Regions from separate parts of the Homo sapiens genome. Here region 1 is linked to region 2. The links are contacts of gene promoters, found by promoter capture Hi-C in blood cells and fetal thymus (Javierre and others, 2016). All regions are on one chromosome and are shown on one strand. Each heading gives the region's core, a stretch centred on a gene start or on the middle of the fragment in contact. The rest is flanking DNA. Distances are from core to core; before and after follow the strand shown. Region 1 has its middle 24 kb from the start of PHACTR2. Region 2 holds the start of LTV1 (LTV1 ribosome biogenesis factor).

Region 1 (3,756 bases), core at 1,085-3,584, 190 kb before region 2:
TTTCCCTGTGAGACGTGTGAATGCCTTGTGGATATTTGTGAGTACACTTAAGTGTTTTTGTTTTCCACTATGCTAGGTCAGTTTTCAGATCTTATTAAAAAGCTCAGGGTTTCGGGAATCCGACTGTTCTGCAAATGCCTGCTGCTGTTGTTAAGTGGCCTGTACCATCCTTGAGTAGGCAAGAAGAGCTGAGATTTCACCAGAAACAGTGACATTCACACCCAGGGGCTGAAATAAGGCGGAATGCCCACCTGGAGATAAGTCTTGGCTGTCACACCTGGACCGCCTGCTCTGGTCATGTGTGTGTGTGATCTATAATAGGGTCACAGCTTTATGAAATTCAGTCACTTTGTAGCAGCCACTCTAAGGAGGATGATTCATGGTCCCTGTGCAGGCACTGCACCCAGCACCTTCTCAGGAACATTCACATTATTTCCAGCTGGATTGAGGCTGGAAGCTCCCTGGCAAGCAATAGAAAAGCACCAGGTGTTCCCAGCAGCGCTCTCTTTCACCCTTGCAAGCTGCAACTGGCAAGAGAATTGTACTTGATGGCACACGGTGTGATGGTTGCCTCACTGCCAGAGCATTTGTTCTGGATGCCTCTGTCCCCAGGTGTCTCAGAAGTAATCCTAATCATTGAACTTTGGCCCTCTGGAAACAAGGCCAGTCGCAAGACACGTCAGGAAGCAATTTGTGCATCGAGACTCGAGCTGCTTTGGAGTTTCCCTCTGGATTTTAGTCAAGCTGTCACAAAGTTCATGACTTGGTTTTTCCACTCTTGTAAAATGAAGGCTGCTCTGACTCCTGCCTGCAATCTCCAGCTTATTGCCTTTAATACTTCCCTGTTGCTATTGCTAAACCCCTTACCTTATACAGACTGTGGAGATGGGCAAAGGAAAAAAATCTCCAAGCTTTTTGATATGGTGCTTTGAAGACACAGTTTACTAATGGCCTGAAAGAATTCATTGCAGCTTCCCACATGCAAAGTTTATTTTCGGAGAGTAGTTTATATATGGAATAAATGGAATAGAATTGAGTCCAGAAATAAACTCTCACATTTTTAGAAAATTGGTTGTCAACAAGGATGCCAAGACAATTCAATGGGGAAAGAAATGTCTTATCAGCAAACAGTGCTAGGGCAACTAGATATCTATGTGAAGAAGAATAAAGTGAGAACTCTACCTTACATCATATTAAAAAATTAACTCAAGATTGATCAAAGACCTAGATGTAAGAGCTAAAACTATAACAGGCTTAGAAGAAAACATAGGTGTAAATTTTCATGACCTTGAATTAGGCAATTATTTCTTTAAAATATGACACTAAAAGCACGAAAAACAAAAGAAACAATAATAATTTGGACATCATCAAACTAAAAATGTTGTGGCTCAAAGGACACCATCTATAAAGTGAAAAGACTACCCAGAGAATGGGAGGAAAGTTTTGTAATGTTGTATCTGAAAAGGGAAGTATCTATATAGAGAACAATTACAATGCAATAATAAAAAGACAAATACTCCAATGTTCAAATGGGCAAAGGATTTGAAAAGACATTTCTCCAAAGAAGATATTCAGATATCTAATAAACACATGAAAAGATGCTCAGCATCATTAACCATCAGGGAAATACAAATCAAAACCACAAGAGACCACTTTATACCCATGGGAATGTCTATAATCAGAAAGACAGGTAATAACAAGTGTTTGCAAGGATTTGGAGAAATTGATGGTGGAAATTTAAAATGATATAGTCACTTTAGAAAACACTCTGGCAGTTCCTCAAACAATCAATCATAGAGTTACCATATGAACAGCAATTCTACTTCTAGGTATATACCCAAAAAAATGAAAACATATATTCACCAGAAACTTGTTTATGAAGTGCAGAGCAGCATTATTCTTAACAGCCTAAAAGTGGAAACAACCCAAATGTTCATCAAACTGATGAATTCGTAAATAAAATATACTATATCCACTCAATAGAATATTATTTGCCAATTAAAAAAAATAAAGGCTGGATACTGTGGCTCACACCTGTAATCTTGGCACTTTGGGAGACTGAGGTGGGAGGATCACTCGAGGCCTGGAGTTCAAGACCAGCCTGAGCAACATAGCAAGACTCCATCTCTACAAAAAGTAAAAAATTAGCCAAGCATGGTGGTGCACGCCTGTAGTCCTAGTGACTTGGGAGGCTGAGGTTGGAGGACTGCTTAAGCCCAGGAGTTCAAGGCTGCAGTGAGCAATGATCATGCCACCACACTCCCGCCTAGGTTGCAGAGCAAGACCTTGTCTCTACAAATAAACAAAAACTAAATGAAGTATTGATACATGCCACAACATGGACGACTCTTAAAAACATCATGCTAGCCGGGCACTGTGGCTCACGCCTGTAATCCCAGCACTTTGGGAGGCCGAGGTGGGTGGATCACCTGAGGTCAGGAGTTCAAGACCAGCCTGGCCAACATGGAGAAACCCCATCTCTACTAAAAATAAAAAATTAGCCGGGTGTGATGGCACATGCCTGTAATCCCAGCTACTTGGGAGGATGAGGTAGGAGAATTGCTTGAACCTGGGAGGCGGAGGTTGCGGTGAGCCGAGATCGTGCCACTGCACTCCAGCCTGAGCAACAAGAGTGAAACTCCGTCTCAAAAAAAAAAAAAAAAAGAAAAAGAAAAAAAAGAAAACATCATGCTAAGTGAAAGAAACCAGGATGAACGTTGTATGATTCTATTTATATGAAATGTCCAGAATAGGCAAATTCCTAGAGAAAGAAAGTACATTAGTGGTTGTCTAGGGTTGGGGGAATTGTGGGGAACAGGAAGTGATGCTAATGGGCATAGGGTTTCTTACTGGGTTGATGACAATACCATAAAATTGATGGTAGTGATGGTCACACAACTCTATGAATATACTAAAAACCATTCCACTGTATACTTTAAATTGGTGAATTGTATGCTATGTGGATTATATTTCAATAAAGAAGATATTTAAAAATCACAAAATATAGATGATTAGAGAATATGGAATATGTCATTAATTATAGATTTTTTCTGCATTTTTAATACTTTCTTTGACTTCACTTGCTTTCTCAGATGTTTCTTAGAAAACATCCAAAGCAAAGATTTACAACTCTGTACGGAAGCCACAGATTTTGTAAGAAAAGGCTAAAGAGAAAAAGATTACTGCAATGTAGTGTTTGCATTTATGATTTACTTTCTATTCACGTTTCAGACTTAGTTATTTACTTTGCACCTATTACCACATACTTGCTATTATCTCTCCATACACATGAAAGTTCTTCGGAATTTTTAGTAAAATGTCCTCAGTTTCTGAGTCAAACCTGTCTACTGAGAATCAAATATAGTTTTCACTAAAGTTGCTTCCTACGAATTGCCATGTGAGAAAAAGAAGAAAACAGACGGGCAGCAGATACACTATTTTCTCCTAGTTGATGGCAAAAATTAGATCTCTATCAAGATCAAAAAAGAGTTCTTTATTCCATGAACTAAGTTTCTTATCCTAAGGTGATTACCGGGGGAAATATTTAAAAGAAGCATCAGTGGAGGGAAGGGTAAATCGTGGGATAAAATACACTCATTGACTTTCTTCTCCAAGCCAAACTGCAGAGGAAATAACAGGCGCAGAGACTTCTAGCAGGGTTGTCTGGTGGGACATGCCCTGGGATATGGGGTCAGTCCATTCCTGTCCAGACCAGGGACTTCCTCTGACCTTGGCAACTCAGTTACCTCCTGTGAG
Region 2 (3,946 bases), core at 318-2,817:
CGTTCAGTCAGCTGGGGGGCTTAGTACTTAGTTTGTATTTCTCTTGCCTCATTTTTAGGATTTGTAAGATGCTGAAGATAATTGCGTCTCTTTCATAGTGTTGCAGTGAGGATGAAATGAGATGATTCAGATAAAGTGCCAGAACATTAATTCATTTAAATAAATACTTACTGAGCATATATGCCCCATGCATCAGGCCCCTGATGATACAGCAGTAAGTACAACTGATTGAAAGGAAATGAAAACTGCCCCCTTGGATCTTTTAATTCTATATAATGAATAATAACAACGAATCTCTGGCACATAGGAGTGCTATGTATTATCTCTGTTACAAAGCAATATCCTAAGACAAGTTTTATGGTCCTAACCTAAATTATTTCTATATATATATATTTTTGAGACAGAGTTTCGCTCTTGTCGCCCAGGCTGGAGTGCAATGGCATGATCTCAGCTCACTGCAACCTCTGCCTCCCGGGTTCAAGCTATTCTCCTGCCTCAACCTCCCAAGTAGTTGGGATTACAGGCACCTGCCATCACACCTGGCTAAGTTTTGTATTTTTAGTAGAGACGGGGTTTCACCACGTTGGCTAGTCTGGTCTTGAACTCCTGACCTCAGGTGATCCACCCGCTTCGGCCTCCCAAAGTGCTGGGATGACAGACATGAGCCACCGCGCCTGGCCTATTTCTATAATTTTTACTGTAATAAAAGAATAATACTCCACAAATACTTACAGTGATAATGCCTACGGCATAAAGACACAATCCAGGGTAAGCCATTCATTGAGAGGTCACCAGAAACTGGGAAGTTGGGGAAACAAATTTGAAAAAAAGGTCTGCTGATGAAAGTGACTGCATTTACCACACACTTTCGTCCAAGAAAAGCTATGTGAGTACGCCAACGCCGGCCTGAAATCTTCCTAAGAATGCGTGCTTATAGCCTATTTGTTTAAACAGGGGGAGAAAGTTAACATTCAAACACCAGAGATTCTGAATATATTTTATTAGTTCAAATGCCTCTACAGTTAACAGAGTCTCGGGGGTTTGGTTAACAGGGCAGATGAAAGCAGTTCATGAAACAGTGGAAAATATAACCTGATCAAGTCTGATGCAGTCTATAAAGGCAAGGCCCCAGCCTCCGTTGCTACGGCAACCGACTCCGCCCCCACCCGGAGAGGGAACCTGAAACTTGGCGACCCCAGCACCCCAGCGGGGTGGTCGCCTCCCTTCCGTGTCCGCGGCTTTGTTTTTTATGGTTGGGAATAGGTAAGGGACACAAGTCAAGGGGGATGCTAGATTCGTCCCCTCTGGTCTCCGTAGAGGGAGCTATAAAAGGTTCGTCCACAAGCAGAAACCCCTCTGTGGCGCCTCAACGTTAAGGACCCCCACGATTCCCTTTGCCCGGCGGGAGACTAAAGGCCGGAAAAGTACAGCCCGCCCAGGGGTGGGAGCCGAGCTAGCCCCACCTCCCGGTGGCTTCTCGCGATCGTGGAGACGCAGCGAGCCTATGTAACTTCCGGTCGCGACCCATCAGCTCCTCGGCGATTGGTCCGTTTCCACGGCCGGCTGGGTGACGTTATCGCCGGGTCCTGGGGCTGCACGTGTGGTGAGGCCTACAGAAGCGGCCTTCAGCTGGACCTTGGTCTCCCCGCCGGACTTCGAGGGTGTCATCGCCGCCCCTGTTGGGGGTGAGCGCCGCGCGGCTGCAGCATGGTGAGCAAGCCTTGCTTGTTTCGGCGGCCGAGCGCTGTGGTTTTGCAGAGGCCAGGCTGCTTCCGGTAATACCTTGGCTACTGCGGCCCGGGTCTGGGTCATGCCAGAGGCTGCTTGCGGCACGGTACCCCGAAATGGGCCAACGTCACCACCGTGGGCATTCTTTGCAAGTTACAGTCTCCCACCGCCGAGCCTCCCTGGGATGTGGCCCGGAGAGGAGAATGGCCTTTTTGTTTTATCCCTGGGAGCCTGCAGCCCTGCGTGATTTCGGTTAACTAAAAGCTGGTGACTGCCGACACAAACGCGCAACCCTGTGCTTCTTGGGGTCGAGCAGAGGGAGCTGCTGGTCTCCCTCAGCGTTGGAGTGGCAGGTGTCTGCCTGTCTGTTTCCTCTGAGAAAGGGAACTTGTGGGAGAGCATAAGGTTGGGCCCAAAGTAAAGCCACTTAATTGGTTTCCCAGTTTAGAGAATCAAAATTGAATAGCGAAGTAAGAATGTAGAAAGAGGTGATGGATCTTATTAAACTTTAGCTGTTTGTGTCGTGATTTTATTTACTGGTTGGTAGATGCTCTGTGTGGAGCTGTCTACTCCAGATTATGTTGTGGCAGGCTTCTTGTCATTCTAGTTCAGTCGGCCAGGGGCCTTCCCTGAGCAGCCAGTGTAAAGTAGCTTTTAAGGCATTTTCACGTCACTGTCTTATATTTTCTTCACCGGAAATTATCTTGATTTTCTTGCTAAGAACAGGGACTTTATCTGACTTTCCCACTTCTGTATTCTCAGTTCCCATAACAAGGTCTGGCACAAAGTAGGTGCTCAAGGAATGTTTGTTGAAGGAAGGTTAAGTATGGATTCTGCAGAACACAGCTGATGTTGCCTGCCCTAGAAGTGTAGATTTTTAAAAAGTATCTTTAACATGACTACTAAAGATGCATGTGTGGACTATGGAATTATTCTCCGTCTTTTTGTTCTGTTTTAATTAATTGTTGTGATTTTGTTCCTTTGAAGCCTCACAGGAAGAAAAAGCCCTTTATAGAGAAGAAGAAAGCTGTGTCTTTTCACTTGGTCCACCGGAGCCAACGAGATCCTTTAGCAGCAGATGAGAGTGCACCCCAGAGGGTTCTATTGCCCACACAAAAAGTAGGTCCTGTTCTTTAGCCAGTCAGTTTGTAGGTAGACAATAGTTTTTTTTTTCTTTTTTTTTTTTTAAATAAATAGAGTCTTAGCACGTTGCCCAGGCTGGTCTCGAACTCCTGGACTTAAGCAGTCCTCCCAGCTTGGCCTCCAAAAGTGCTGGGATTACAGGCATGAGCCACCACGCCTTGCTATGTTAATAGTTTTTAATAAATTGTTAGCCAGCTGTTATTCTCAGATAACTGATATTCTGGGAAATAATCTATAAGTTAATTTTCAGTACAATTGGTGATTTTTACATCATTCACATTATTTTGATTGGGAAGACAAAGATCTTTATTTGAGATGTTTAAACGAGCAAATCTTGTAGAATAATGGTAAATATTTACCAAAGCACCAGCTACAATGCGGCATGATGTTATTTAGGGCACCGATATATGCTCAAACTGTGCTTTCTCTAAGATCCTGCCGTTTCATAACCGCAAACTGCATTTTGCCTCCTGCTTGCTCATCTTAGGAAATGTAAAATATCTGAGCTCCTTGGTTAGCTCAGGGAACTTTGCAAGGGAGCCTGGTAAAGATTGACTTAATGTTAGACTCTACTTATTAAGACTCTTAATGTTACACAACACTTATTAAGTGTAGATATTATGAAACAGAGTGTTGGGAAACAGAGTACTGGGGGACATGGGCCACGTTTAGCTTTTCAGTAAAGCCAGTTTTGTTGTATGTTGAGAAGGGTTTTTTTGCATATAAATACAAGAAATTGTACTTACCTTTCAAGGCGCCCAAATCTCTGTTTCCCAGGCTGGCATGCAAAGTGGCTCCATCTCAGCTCACTGCAACTTCTACCTCTTGGGCTCAAGCGATCCTCCCACCTTAGCCTCCAGAGTAGCCGGTACTACAGGCACACGCCACCTGGCCTGGCTGATTTTTAAAATTATTTTGTAGAAACGAGGTCTCACTATTTTGCCCAGGCTGGTCTTGAACTCCAAGGCTCAAGTGATCCTCCTACCTCAGCATCCCAAAGTGCTGGGATTATAGGCATGAGCCACTGCACCTGGCCCCCCAGGTCTTTTCTTATAACCCTCCAAATAGATGATAA

Evidence for each region. Contacts are between HindIII fragments. The CHiCAGO score rates a contact against its expected background, and 5 or more counts as called.
Region 1: a fragment that was not itself captured here is called in contact with the fragment with the promoter of LTV1 in region 2 in 1 of 17 cell types (erythroblasts); the score reaches 5.4 in erythroblasts.

What each region holds. Positions count from the first base shown.
Region 1 is chr6:143,652,511-143,656,266 of GRCh38, forward strand. It overlaps a transcript of PHACTR2 not described here. Among named protein-coding and RNA genes, the nearest start is that of PHACTR2, 24 kb to the right of the region's middle. The HindIII fragment of the contact is 2,851 bases long and covers 910-3,756 here.
Region 2 is chr6:143,841,771-143,845,716 of GRCh38, forward strand. LTV1 (LTV1 ribosome biogenesis factor) reads left to right here and starts at 1,568. Exons shown (of 11, transcript NM_032860.5): 1 at 1,568-1,710; 2 at 2,716-2,847. The coding sequence starts at 1,708. RefSeq lists enhancers at 1,372-1,421, 1,602-1,811, 2,002-2,071. The HindIII fragment of the contact is 13,446 bases long and covers 1-3,946 here.